3 separate regions of the Homo sapiens genome follow, and all the other regions are linked to region 1. Evidence: promoter capture Hi-C in 16 types of primary human blood cells and fetal thymus (Javierre and others, 2016). All regions are on one chromosome and are shown on one strand. The core of a region is centred on a gene start or on the middle of the fragment in contact, and the rest is flanking DNA. Distances in the headings are between cores, read along the strand shown.

Evidence for each region. The method cuts DNA at HindIII sites, captures the fragments that hold promoters and counts their contacts. A CHiCAGO score of 5 or more calls a contact.
Region 2: a contact is called between a fragment that was not itself captured here and the fragment with the promoter of CAMKV in region 1, in 1 of 17 cell types (M1 macrophages). The highest score is 6.6, in M1 macrophages.
Region 3: a fragment that was not itself captured here is called in contact with the fragment with the promoter of CAMKV in region 1 in 1 of 17 cell types (endothelial precursors); the score reaches 5.4 in endothelial precursors.

The regions. Positions count from the first base shown.
Region 1 is chr3:49,867,717-49,872,231 of GRCh38, forward strand. It overlaps CAMKV (CaM kinase like vesicle associated), which reads right to left and starts at 2,190. Exons shown (of 11, transcript NM_024046.5): 1 at 2,042-2,190. RefSeq lists enhancers at 10-942, 943-1,874. The HindIII fragment of the contact is 1,273 bases long and covers 1,813-3,085 here.
Region 2 is chr3:49,614,084-49,618,598 of GRCh38, forward strand. All of the region lies in intron 1 of BSN (bassoon presynaptic cytomatrix protein), which reads left to right. Among named protein-coding and RNA genes, the nearest start is that of APEH, 58 kb to the right of the region's middle. The HindIII fragment of the contact is 5,524 bases long and covers 1-4,012 here.
Region 3 is chr3:49,659,243-49,663,757 of GRCh38, forward strand. It overlaps BSN (bassoon presynaptic cytomatrix protein), which reads left to right. Exons shown (of 12, transcript NM_003458.4): 6 at 1,244-3,320; 7 at 3,634-4,424. Among named protein-coding and RNA genes, the nearest start is that of APEH, 13 kb to the right of the region's middle. The HindIII fragment of the contact is 4,908 bases long and covers 1-4,476 here.

The DNA.
Region 1 (4,515 bases), core at 940-3,439:
AGAAAGGGGAGGTGGGGAGATGGAGAGAATTTAGAAAAAAGAGAATGGGGCAGAGACACAGACAAAGACAGAACCTGTGATGGAAGAGGAGCAAGGAGATGACAAAGTAAAAGGGACACAGGCACAAAGGGCAGGAAAGGGGAGGTGGACGGGAGTTCTGAAGGGGGCGGATGGGTGCCCAGCAGAGCCCTAAGGCCTCCATGGCGATGTGCTCTAAATCCCTGGGCCAGGAGCTATCCATGGTACTGGGACCTTCGAGACTGCACCCTCCTGTATCCCCCAAACATACACTGAACTTGGTGTAGGAGGCACAGCCAAAAGGAGGCCAGCTCCTTGGAGCATGTTGGTGGGGAAGAGGCCAGCTGCTGCAGCCCCCCAGTCAGGACAGTTCCCAGCCCGTCTCTCTGCCATCACGGCAGCTTAGGTAAAGCAGGTCCAACATGTTGAAGGCAGACGCATAGGGGTATGGAAATGAGGCTCGGATGCCTGGCTGCTTCCCTTTATAGTCCCTCTTCTCAGTTGGCCCAGCTGTACTTAGACCCTCCCAGCCAACCCCTCCCCCATCTGCTATCCTTTCCAGGCTTTGGGTCCCCAGAGCCCCTCTTACAGCTCTGCTTAATCCCCTCTCACCAACCCCCAACAGCAGATCCTGCCATGAGTGCCAGAAACGGCACCACAAGCAACCCAGAAACAGGATAACCACACAGCCCTTCACCTCCCCATGCCTCAGTTTCCCCTAATGGAAACCATGGAATCTGGCCTTCTCCCAGGGCAGAGGACTGCTTGCCTGCCTGTGAATGGTGGCCAGGGCATGGGGCTGGAGAGTAGGGCCATCAGAGATATGTGAACAGCCAGCCTAGGAGAGCACCTGAAGGGTCCACACCAAATATTAGAAAAGGGAGACCCTTGCCCCACCCTGGAAACCAACCTGACTCTGAGTGGAGACACCAGTTCCCCAGTTGAGGAAACTGAGGCTCAGAAGTCGCTGGAGCTGCCAGGAATCAACTCTGAGGGTGGGGGAGGGCACCAGGTCTCTAAAGGTAGTCCTGGGGGCTCAAAGCCTGGACTTGGGGGTAAGGGGAGTACAGCACAGGGACTGGACTACTGCAGACTCTGAGCTTTTAGTGTGGGACAGAGGGCCCTGATCCTTAGGAAGGAACCTGGTGGAGCAGGATCTGCCTGGGAGGTGCGGACAAAAGCAATTTGGCAGAGCTATGCGGGGAGGGGGCTGGGGCTCAAGAGCCCAGGGTCTCTGCCAAACAGTACAAGCTGGGGAAGGCAGAAGCTCATGCTGTCACTATCCCAGCCACCTCCAGCCAGGGGCCCTGCTCCCCACCGTGCTGCCACCCTGACCCCTTTCCCAAGTGCTGCTGGCTCGCCCCCGCTGGCACAGCAACACACATGCGGAAAGCACACGTGTGAGCACCAAGCCCCGCACCTCCCAGCAGGAACATGTGCGCCCCCACCCCCACCGTGCACGTGGGTCCATGCACTGGACCCCCAGCTGGCACCCAGGTGAAGGCTTGGAAGCTGAATTTTGGCTGGGGGGCTGCTGGTCCCCAGGGGCTTGGAGCTTCCTCCCCCACCCCGCGGCAGCCCCGCCCAGCCCCCTCCGGGTTGTCGCCCATAAAGAACTCTCCGTTGTCATGGAAATTAGTGACTGCTAAGCGGGAGGGAAGGGGCCCGGGGACAGTTGGGAGGGGCTGGAGGCGGCTCTGGGAACGGGGAGGGACGGCTCAGCTCTCGGCCCCTATCCTCACGGGGGACCACGAATCTTCGAGGGTTAATCTTTTCACAATTCCGAGCCGCAGAAGCTTCCCCCCAGAACCCCCAAGCCGTCCGAGGTAATGGGGAACTTTAGCCCGACCCCGCACTCCCTCCCCCAAATCTGCAAAGCCCGCGCGCTCTGACCCCGCCAGGACCTCGAGCCCTCGCTGCGCCCCCGCGCACTCTGCATCCCGCACCTCGAGCCAGGGAAACAATCCCCCAAGGCCCCACAACCTGCGTTCGGGAAGCGCCCCCAGCCCGGCCCGCCCCGCACCTGCAGCGCCGGTTGGTCACAGGGAGGAAGTGATCGCGGGCTCAGCGGGGCGCCGAGGGCTCCGGGGACGGCGGGCAGAATCCGCTCCGAGCACGCGGGGCAGACGCGGCGCCAGATGCAGCCGCTTCGGCTAGCGAACCTCCAGCATCGCCAGCCGCTTGCCGGCACCGGATTCGCACCCCGGGCCGGGGGCGGGCTGGGGGCGGGGCCTCCCAACCGGCCCCGCCCCGACCCTGGCGGAGCCTTAAGGGCAGAATCCCACTGGAGAGCAGGAGCGCGCGGGATGGCAGCGGTGCTGGTGAGCACTGGCCTGCTTAGCCCTGGCCAAGGTTCTCAATGGCTCCCTTAGGCCCTCAGCCTGGGGCCGGAGGAGGCCTCCTATGCCCAATGTAAGGGGTGGTGAGTGGAGAGTTGGGGGAAAGCCTGAGTCCTGGAGCTGCATAGGATCGCTTGCCAGTCATTAGTCTCTAGGGAACGGGGCTTTGCCCAGCTCCCCGAACCCGACCCAAAAGGCAGGACCAACTTAGAAAAACCAGATGGGCAGTCGGGCTAGGGCAGGCTCCCCTAGCTAGGAGCAGTAAACACACAGAGGTGTGTGTTTGCAGGTAGTCAGTGTGGCATCCCCTAGCATCCCCTAGCTACGCATCCCCTAGCTAGGAGCAGTAAACACACAGAGGTGTGTGTTTGCAGGTAGTCAGTGTGAAAACAGTGAGGGCCCTAGACTGTAGTAGCAAAGTCTCCTATCCCACCCCATCCCCAACTCCTGCAAGGCCAGAGTCTTTCCCAAACATAAGTACCAGCAAGGGTGGCAGCACAGTCAGCCCCTTCCTGTGTGGCACCAAATTTCCCAAACTATAAAAGTCACCTGTGACATGGTGTGGCCTCTGCTTTCTTTTCAGTCTAATCACTGTCAAACACTTCATGAGTTGTATCACTCTAGTGGCCTGGCCTGGGATATGGGGACACAGGAGAACTGTGGCACCAAGGTATCCCACCTGGCCTGGGTGCTAATCAGAGGGAGGAGGCTCAGAACCACCAGGAGGAAGCTTTAAAGGAAGTCCTTGGCCATTTCTCTGTCCCTTGTCAGTGAGGCTCACGGACCCAAAGCCTGACCCACACCCCTCACAAGCCCTGAGGACCATCCTAAGGCCAGTATCTGAAGACCAGACTCAGGCCTCTCAGTGTCTGGAGCTGGGTTTTATCCCACCTCACTCCTCCCAGTGAGCCTCCTGACCCTGCTGTGGGAGAGGGAGTTGGGGTCATCCCCAAACCCTCAGCCATCTTGAGGCTGCCCTGGCCACCCATGGCTGATGACAGGAGGGACTGTCCAAGTCCAGAAGCTGGGGCTGGGGCTCAGACTGAAGGCTAGCTTAGGAAATGACCGCCTCAAACAAGGTTCCTCAAAATTTTCCTCCAGAGGGGGTACTGAGCCCTTCACCTTCCTCCCTGGCTTGGTGTTACCTCCTCTAGGCCAGGCTGGTGCCACTTCTGGGGTCCCTGGGCTCTGAGTGGTCTCGGGTTATGGGACCCACCCCACCACTGGGTAGGAATCTCCTGGCAGGCTGGGTATCTGCAAGGCAGAACCCGTTTCTCATCTCAGTATGCTCGGCTGATGTCTGCAGAATGAATGAATGGCCTGGCACTGAGTCCTTCCTGCCATCTGCCCACTATTCTTGAAACAATGGGTCTCTGAGTTTTATGGTGTAGCCAAGCTGTAGCTTGCTGACCCCACACATGCCACATACATGTTTTCTGTCTTTCCTGAGGGTCATGGCTATCCAGGCATGGGGGTCAATGAGAAGCTGGAATGGGGATTTTTAGGCAGGGGAAGGGGTGGCTCCTTAGCGCCCTGCCTGCTGCTGGCAGTACTCCACCTCTTCTTGGTCCTAAGCACGCTCTGTGCATGTGGGTGAGAGCACGTGGCAGGGTGTGTGTGCACACGTGTACGTGTTGTGTATGCTCTCTTTTGCCGAGGGAGATGCAACAGCACAGTGTATGCAGTGGTGCCCAGGGGCACGTGTGTCTGCATTCTTTGTGCACCCAGGCATGCTTGCTGGCACGTGTGTGTGGACGCTGTAGCTGGTCCCTGGAGTTATCAGTCCCCTTCCTGCCTGACACAAGTCTCAGGATTGTGGAGGCTGAATCAGGCTTTGAGAGCTGGACATGGGAAGGGGGCTGGACCATGTCCAGCAGTGGGCAGGGTCTGTGCTGACCCTACATCATTGGCTGTTTTCAGGCTCCCCACCAGAGCAGCCCCTTGATCTCTGGTGTATGTGAAGATAGACAAGTCTTTGCCATTTGTGGAGGGCAATCTGAAGACAAGAACCCAGGGCTAGGATTGAGCCATGGCTTATCCCTCAGCCCCTAGACAGGAAGGCACAGGCAGGGTAGGACCGGCTTCAATGTTTTGGCTTCAACCTCCAGCTGCCTTTCAGGCAGGAGATAGTAACATCAGCTGAATGCCATCCTCTTAG
Region 2 (4,515 bases), core at 1-2,500, 250 kb before region 1:
GAGTCTCGCTCTGTCGCCCAGGCCAGAGTGCAGTGGCTTGATCTCGGCTCACTGCAAGCTCTGCCTCCCAGGTTCATGCCATTCTCCTGTCTCAGCCTCCCAAGTAGCTGGGACTACAGATGCCCGCCACCACGCCCAGCTAATTTTTTGTATTTTTAGTAGAGACAGGGTTTCACCGTGTTAGCCAGGATGGTCTTGATCTCCTGACCTCGTGATCCACCCGCCTTGGCCTACCAAAGTGCTGGGATTACAGGCGTGAGCCACCGCGCCCGGCCGACATTCAGTCTTTAAAGTTATACTGAACTCATGGCATTTGACACGTCAGCTGACTGGTGGCCACATATAGCTCTTGCTATTCTGGAAAAGCCATGGGATAGAGGTAAAAATGGGACTGAGGGGAAGATCAAAGGTAAACGCCACATGAACCACTACTGTATACCTACTGGTCTCTTTCTAGAATTTGGCCTGAGGTGGGCCTGGTGCAATTCTTAGTGAGACACTACAAGAATATGGATGTCACTTGAGGCAGGTCTAAGGGTTTGGTTTTGTTCTACATCATGGATGACAAGTCCATGGCCTTTGTGCTTAATTGATGGTGACAATCTTTCCCATGAATCCTTCCCAAGCCCACTTCCCAGGCGGTCACTACCAATTTATTGGGGTTAAAGGAAAGTTACCCTTATGTTACCCTTATTTCCTATCCTTGCTCTGGATTCTGGAGACTAGCTGGTCCCAGAGGAAACCAAAAGCAAATCAATTTTCCCTGAAAGATGTTCTCAATCTAGTAGACCCACTCAGGCCCCAGGGCTGGGGAATGAGGTCCCCAAGGTTTACTTTTGTGGCATTTGTGGCCTGGATTCCCCTTGCTTTCAGACTCCTGGTGGTCTCCCCGTCTGATGCTGGCAGCTTCTTCTAGCCTATGTTTAATGGCAGCAAGTCTTGTTCCTACCAGTCCCTCTTGTCACATTCTCCCCTTGCTGACCCACCTGCAGTCTCATGCTGGACTCTTTCTCTCAGCAACATCAGAGCAGTCAGAGCTCACTGCCTTAAACATGTTCTCTTCTGGCCCAAACAGGCTGGCCTGGAACAAATTGAGCCTTGTTATTTGGCCACAGGAAGAGTCCCACCTGCCAGACATTTCTGAGTGGAAAGGATGAGTGGAGGTGGCAGGTACCTGGTAACACTGATGGTTCCTTCATGTGGGTTTGTCTGCTCAGGGGTGTTGAGTGCATGTCTGCCCAAGTGCATCAGTATACACCTGGCGTCACTGGTGTATACTGATGCATGGCCACCATGGTGCTTTGTCCCCAGCTCTACCAAGGACCTAGCTCTCTGGGTTACTCTGGGGTCTTTTGAGTCTTGGAAACTTACCATCAGAGTGGGACTACAACATAAAGGGGCTGGGAAGTTAGGAAGAGAAGATGTCGGCCTCAAGGGAGCTCTGCCTATGGCATGACCTCTCACCCTGCCCAGGAACCCTGGGTGTGGTACCTTCCCTCTCCAGCCAGCAGACAGCACCTTAGAGGCTTTGAGCCCATGATGCCATCTTCTTGGGCAATCACAGGCTCTTTCTGTGGCTGTGGCTGCGTTTTATGGAGATCCTTACCTTTGTGCTATTGCCGTCAGCACTGCAAATTCTTTTTGGCCCCTAGGACAATCAGGAAGCTGATGAGGCCAGCCCTTGATGGCTGGGGGCCTCCCTGTCACTGACCTAAGTACACTTTCCATGGAGCCTGGTGGAGGGTAGGACTGAATCTGGTCTGGGAAACCAACAGAGACTATTTTAAGGACTGGCGATTAAGAGTGTAAGAATTTTCTTAGCAGTGGCCTCAACTAGGACACATATGCCAAGGGGTTGAGGAATACGGGAGGGACAAGGCAGAACATATGGAAATTTCTGTTTATATTTATTGTCTATCTCATCTTTTAAAACTTTTCCACTTGGGGAGGTGGGTTTTATAAAAAATATGCATTTATATAATTGGTAGATGAATATTCATATGTTGGAGATGCTGAAACATGTTGTATTGATAGAGGCACATGATTAAAAAGGCAGGAGGCCACTGGCTTGAAGGCTGGGCAGGCCAGGATATGTTTTCTTGTGCAAAAACTGGAATTTTTTTCTAAGCCTAAACTTTCTAGATTCTCATATCCATTCCTGAGAGAGAAGCTCTAGGACACTGGACCTGGCCCCAGCACCCACTGCTCTACAGCCTCTGCTTTGCTGCCTGGGTGCACAGGAACCACTGGCGTGGCCCAGTAGTCCTTCCTGCCCTGGGACTCAAAGGAGAGGGTCCTCCCACAGCATCTGCCCATCCCTAATTGCCCATTACAGAAAGGTCAGCCATGAATTCATCAAAACCTCTTTTGAAGCTGTGGGGCTCTTCTGGCCACTCTGACTTAGAGAAACAGTTTCTTTAAGTTCACTCCCCTCCTGGTGAGCAAAGACAGCCATTTATTAATGGAAAACATTTCTTTCAAATCCTCAACTGAAGGCGGTGGGGGGCATGCTCTGGAATGCTGCCTTGTGGGGCCCAGCTTGGTTTTCCCTCTGGCGCCTGCACTGGCTCCATGCCTGGCTGCTTTTCCGTCTGGTCTGAATCAGCCTGGTCAGGCCCTCCTTCCCACTGTGCACCAGGGCAGCCACATCTCTCCTGGTGGTTCTGCCATTATGGACGTCACTGGTGTCTGAAGCATTTTTTAGTCACTGACGCTGGCCTCGTGCCTTTCTGGGGGCTTCTGACAGAGGGGAGCCCAGCCTCTCACCAGTGCAATCAGGATTATGTCTCCCAGCAGTGGTCCTGGGATGGGACAGGAGGCCACAGGGTACTAAGGATTGGTGGGGGAGAGGCTAACTGAATTTTCTCTGTTCCCGTTCCCAGCAGCCCTCCTGTGGCCAGGGGGCTCCTTCCTGCCTTGGCAAACAGCTCTGAGTTAAGATTGTTTCTGATCAGCTAATAGCCTTAAATGCTGAAAGGAAGAAAAGCTGGTAGAAATCTGGCTGTTTGTACATTGTTTACCTTTCTTGGCCATCTTAAAAATATATTTGTCCCAATATCTAATGCATGTGGGGCTTAAAACCTAGATGACGGGTTAATAGGTGTAGCAAACCACCATGGCACATGTATACCTATGTAACAAACCTGCACGTTCTGCACATGTGTCCCAGAACTTAAAGTAAAATAAAAAATAAAATACATTATATATATATATATATATATATATATATATATATAATTTTATAATTTGTCCCTAGATAAGGCATTTCTAGTCTTCCCTGTTTGACTTCTAGCCACTCCTTCATCTCTCTGCCCTTCCTGTCTCTTGTGTCTCCTTTATGGCGGCACCCCTCTCCCCTCCTTGCTTACACACCCTTACCCTGGCCCTCCCCAGCAATAGGACTCCCATGGCTGCTGGGAGGAGCAGTGGCCTCAAGGGGCCTCTCTGCTGATGAGGCCACATCCACAAGACCAAGTCTTCCTTGGGGTGGGCTGGGTCCTGCCTGTGGACACCTCCCTCTCTTTTTCCTCATTCCCTTCTTTCTCCTGCCCAGCGGCCATATTTTGGCGGAGACCTTTGTTTGTGTCTCTTAAGAAGAGCCTCCTGGAGGGCTTACCTCTTCCCTCCTGAGGAGGCCTTGGACGGGTGTAGTCACTGTGGCTCTCATGGAATGTGTGTTCAGGTGTGTGGTACAGACAGTTATGACCCCTGGAGCTCCTGCCACGGTGGGCCCTTGTGTTCAGCTGGAGAAGGAACTGGCCCCTCCCAAGCTGGACTGGTTTGGGACAGGGCTTGGGCATTTATGGTGTGTGGCACTCATAGGTGTAGCCTTTCTTCCTGTGACTTCTCGGCTTTCACATACGTAGACTCATCATGGCATGGGGCATTGTTGAGTGCTCCTCCTCATGGGAACTTCTATAACCCTGTGGGGTCATTCTCTTTTTTCTCCTTTCCCTGACTTCTCTGGTTCTGACATCTCCTCTACTCCTATGAACTTTGGTCCTCCCCACAAAGCTTTCTGGGTGATTTCTAGCCTGAGAATTGTCTGTGAACAAGACCTGTAACTCTCCCAGATAAAAATATCTACACTTATCTGAATTGAACTGAAGCTGTGACCCATCTCTTAATGTCTCTTACCCCCTACCCCCACCTCAACACAACCAAACCAAACCCAAACTTGTGATTTTGTGATTTCGCTTCCCATTTCTTACCCACTAATTGACTTCTCTCCCTGGATTCCCCATCTCAATTAAAAGGAACACTCCTCCCTGGAGCCAAAGCCAGAATACCTGCTGCTGTACCTTCCCTTCCTCTTGCCACACAGACTATCTCCTGGGCCAGTGCCTTATTCTCACTGGTTTCCTACCTCATCATCTTCTTCTCCTTGAAGAGACCCTAAACATTCCCCTATGTGAAAACCTTACAGGCTGTGCTCATTTTAGCTTTTAGCTTCCCAATTAGCTCAGGTAGTTCAACACACACTATCACACGATTGCTGGGAGCTGTTCTAGGTGC
Region 3 (4,515 bases), core at 773-3,272, 210 kb before region 1:
CTCTAGGCTGGCAGGGAGGGCAGGTCAGAGAGGCAGGGTGGTCCTGGCTGCAGGCACAGAGGTCCCATGGGCTGGCCATGTGAGACCAGGCCATGATAGGCACTCATGATGCGTGGCCAAAATAAGAAAAGAGACAACAGAGTGAGGGGTTCAAAAGGCTAAATTTATTCCATAAAAGGCCCACCCTGAAATTTTGAGGGCACACTATAATTTTTATTATGACATATGGTGGATGTAGGTGGGAGGTTTTTAGGTAGTTACTTGGCAAGGTAAAAAGTAAGAATCCTATAGGAGTCACTTCCCAGTATATATTGGAATTTGGGTGGTCCATGAAACCCAAGGGCATGGGGCATTCTGGGAAGGCTAGGAGCGAGAGAAAAAGGGAGAAGACAGAGTGAACTACCAGGCAATGTGGACCTTCAGGCAATGCAGAGTGTCTAGGGTAGGCAAGGAGGACCCCATGGTAGGCACTGTTAGGGAACCTTGACCAGGAAGCCATGCTGCTGGAGGTAGGGCTGGATAGGACTTACGGGTGCACTGGTGGCTCCAGAGAACAGCAGGTTGACCGAGGGACATGGAGGGAGCTGGGGACCAGGCCAAGAGCACAGCCCAGAGGGTTTGGCAGAGGGCAGTGCAGGGCACTAGAGGAAGAGGGTGGGCAGGCAGCTGAGGAGCCTTCCACTTTAGAGAGGACTAGGGCAGGATGCAGAATGACTCAGAGCCTGCCACGATTGGCATACAATCTACATGTGTCCCTTCCCATGATCCTCTAGGGAGCCTGGCGGGCCCAGGACCCTCTCCACTCCATGCCTCCTGTTCATACTCCACTGATCTCAACCCCTGTCAGCTGCTAGGCCCCAAACCCAGAGCCACAGCTGTACTCTTCTTACCTCAATGTGAGGCAGAGGGTGGCAGGCCCATTGGAGATGTGCAGGGGTTCTCAAAGCCATGTGCTGGGCCAGTACAGGACATTGGCATGAAGGGAATCTGCCCGTACCCTCCTGCTTCCCAAAGCTCTGGGAAAGAGAAGGGCTGTAAAATAATCACAGATCTTCCCTCTATGGCAAAGAAACCAAGGCCTATGGGTGGGCAGGGTAGGCCTCCAGGCTGCCTGGTAAATCAGGGCACCAGCAAGATGGAACCCAGCTCCTTCCCCAGCCCAGGCCTGGGTTCTGCCACCCCACACCCCATCAAGTCACCACACCTTGGGTCTCAGTGCTGCCCACCCTTCCCTCTGTCTCAGGTGTCGGCGTTGCCACCCAACAGCCTGGTCCGCAAGGTGAAGCGGACACTGCCCAGCCCCCCTCCAGAGGAGGCTCACCTTCCCCTGGCTGGCCAGGCCTCCCCACAGCTGTATGCAGCCAGCCTGCTGCAGCGAGGGCTGACGGGGCCCACCACTGTCCCTGCTACCAAGGCCAGCCTGCTCCGGGAGCTGGACCGGGACCTGCGGCTGGTGGAGCATGAGTCCACCAAACTGCGCAAGAAGCAGGCAGAGCTGGATGAGGAGGAGAAGGAGATTGACGCCAAGCTCAAGTACCTGGAGTTGGGTATCACACAACGCAAAGAGTCTTTGGCCAAAGACCGGGGTGGCCGTGACTACCCACCCTTGCGTGGTCTTGGCGAGCATCGTGACTACCTATCGGACAGTGAGCTCAACCAGCTGCGGCTCCAGGGCTGCACCACTCCCGCTGGCCAGTTTGTGGACTTCCCTGCCACTGCCGCTGCTCCTGCCACCCCCTCTGGTCCCACTGCCTTCCAGCAGCCCCGCTTCCAGCCTCCAGCCCCACAGTATTCTGCAGGCAGTGGTGGGCCAACTCAGAACGGATTCCCAGCCCACCAGGCCCCCACCTACCCTGGCCCCAGCACGTACCCAGCTCCTGCCTTTCCTCCTGGTGCCAGTTACCCAGCTGAGCCTGGCCTGCCAAACCAGCAGGCTTTCCGCCCCACAGGCCACTATGCAGGCCAAACACCCATGCCAACCACACAGAGCACCCTTTTTCCAGTCCCCGCTGATAGCCGTGCCCCACTGCAGAAGCCACGCCAGACATCGCTAGCCGACTTGGAGCAGAAGGTGCCCACCAACTATGAGGTGATCGCCAGCCCCGTTGTGCCCATGTCTTCAGCCCCATCTGAAACCAGCTACAGTGGCCCAGCAGTGAGCAGCGGCTATGAGCAGGGCAAGGTCCCTGAGGTGCCCCGGGCTGGTGACCGTGGCAGTGTGAGCCAGAGCCCAGCCCCCACCTACCCCTCTGACTCACACTATACCAGTCTGGAGCAGAACGTTCCTCGAAACTACGTAATGATTGATGACATCAGTGAACTGACCAAGGACAGCACCTCTACTGCTCCTGATAGCCAACGGCTGGAGCCCCTGGGGCCAGGCAGCAGTGGGCGTCCAGGGAAGGAGCCTGGAGAACCAGGTGTCCTTGACGGGCCCACACTGCCCTGCTGCTATGCCAGAGGAGAAGAGGAATCTGAGGAGGACTCATACGATCCCCGCGGGAAGGGTGGCCACCTCCGGAGCATGGAGAGCAATGGTCGACCAGCCAGTACCCACTACTATGGTGACAGTGACTACAGGCATGGGGCTCGAGTAGAGAAGTATGGTCCAGGGCCCATGGGGCCCAAGCATCCCTCCAAGAGCCTGGCTCCAGCTGCCATCTCCTCAAAGCGCAGCAAGCACCGGAAGCAGGGCATGGAGCAAAAGATATCCAAGTTCTCGCCTATTGAAGAGGCCAAAGACGTAGAGTCAGACCTGGCGTCCTACCCCCCACCTGCAGTCAGCAGCAGCCTGGTCTCTCGGGGCAGGAAGTTCCAGGATGAAATCACCTATGGGCTCAAGAAGAACGTGTATGAGCAGCAAAAATACTATGGGATGTCCAGCCGGGACGCAGTGGAGGACGACCGCATTTATGGCGGGAGCAGCCGGTCCCGGGCACCTTCTGCATACAGTGGGGAGAAGCTGTCCAGCCACGACTTCAGTGGCTGGGGCAAGGGGTACGAAAGGGAACGGGAGGCTGTGGAGCGACTTCAAAAAGCGGGCCCCAAGCCCTCATCCCTAAGTATGGCCCACAGCCGGGTACGACCCCCCATGCGGAGCCAGGCCTCTGAAGAGGAGAGCCCCGTCAGTCCTTTGGGGAGGCCCCGCCCTGCCGGAGGGCCCCTCCCTCCCGGCGGGGATACCTGCCCACAGTTCTGCTCCAGCCACTCCATGCCTGATGTCCAGGAACATGTCAAGGACGGACCTCGGGCCCACGCATATAAGCGTGAGGAGGGCTACATCCTGGATGATTCCCATTGCGTGGTTTCCGACAGCGAAGGTAATGGCAGCCAGGGGTGATTTCTGCGGATACTCAGCAGCTGGGGGGCCTGCCTACCTGTGGGGCCCTGGGCCCTAAGATGTCCCAGCAGGGTCTGGTCTGGCGCCTCATCTGGTGGGCCCTGCTGCAGGCAGGCTGCCCTTGCCTGCTCCATCTGTGCCCTGGTCCGTGGTTGCGGGAGGGTGGGCTGGGGGCCTGCTGATCTGCTTGTGGCTGTGGCACCCACTCTCTTGGTTTCTTTGCATGGCTTCAGCTAGGCCTCCCCCTGCGGCTAGCCCGGGGGTTGATGGTATTCTGTTTTTGGTCTCTGAAGCGTATCACCTGGGCCAGGAGGAGACGGACTGGTTTGATAAGCCCCGGGATGCCCGCTCTGACCGGTTCAGGCACCACGGGGGCCATGCAGTTTCCTCCTCCTCCCAGAAGCGAGGCCCTGCCAGGCACAGCTACCATGACTACGATGAACCCCCTGAGGAGGGCCTGTGGCCTCATGATGAGGGTGGCCCAGGCCGCCATGCCTCAGCCAAGGAACACCGGCACGGTGACCACGGGCGGCACTCAGGCCGCCACACTGGTGAGGAGCCGGGACGGCGTGCTGCCAAACCACACGCTCGGGACCTGGGTCGCCATGAGGCCCGGCCCCACTCTCAGCCCAGCTCTGCTCCAGCTATGCCGAAGAAGGGTCAGCCTGGGTATCCCAGCTCTGCTGAGTACTCACAGCCATCCCGTGCTTCATCCGCATACCATCATGCCTCTGACAGCAAGAAGGGCTCCCGGCAAGCCCACTCCGGGCCCGCTGCACTGCAGTCAAAGGCAGAACCCCAGGCGCAGCCGCAGCTGCAAGGTCGGCAGGCAGCTCCAGGACCACAGCAGTCACAGTCACCATCATCCAGGCAAATACCCTCTGGGGCAGCATCACGCCAGCCACAGACACAGCAGCAGCAGCAAGGTCTTGGGCTGCAGCCCCCACAGCAGGCTCTGACACAGGCTCGGCTGCAGCAACAGAGCCAGCCAACCACCCGGGGCTCAGCCCCTGCTGCCAGCCAGCCTGCAGGGAAGCCTCAGCCAGGCCCCAGCACAGCCACAGGTCCTCAACCAGCAGGACCGGTAAGCAGAGCTCCCATGCATGGGTTGTAACCAGGGAAGATGCTATGAATGAAGCTTGGACATCCCCTTGGTTCCAGGCTGGGCATGGGCA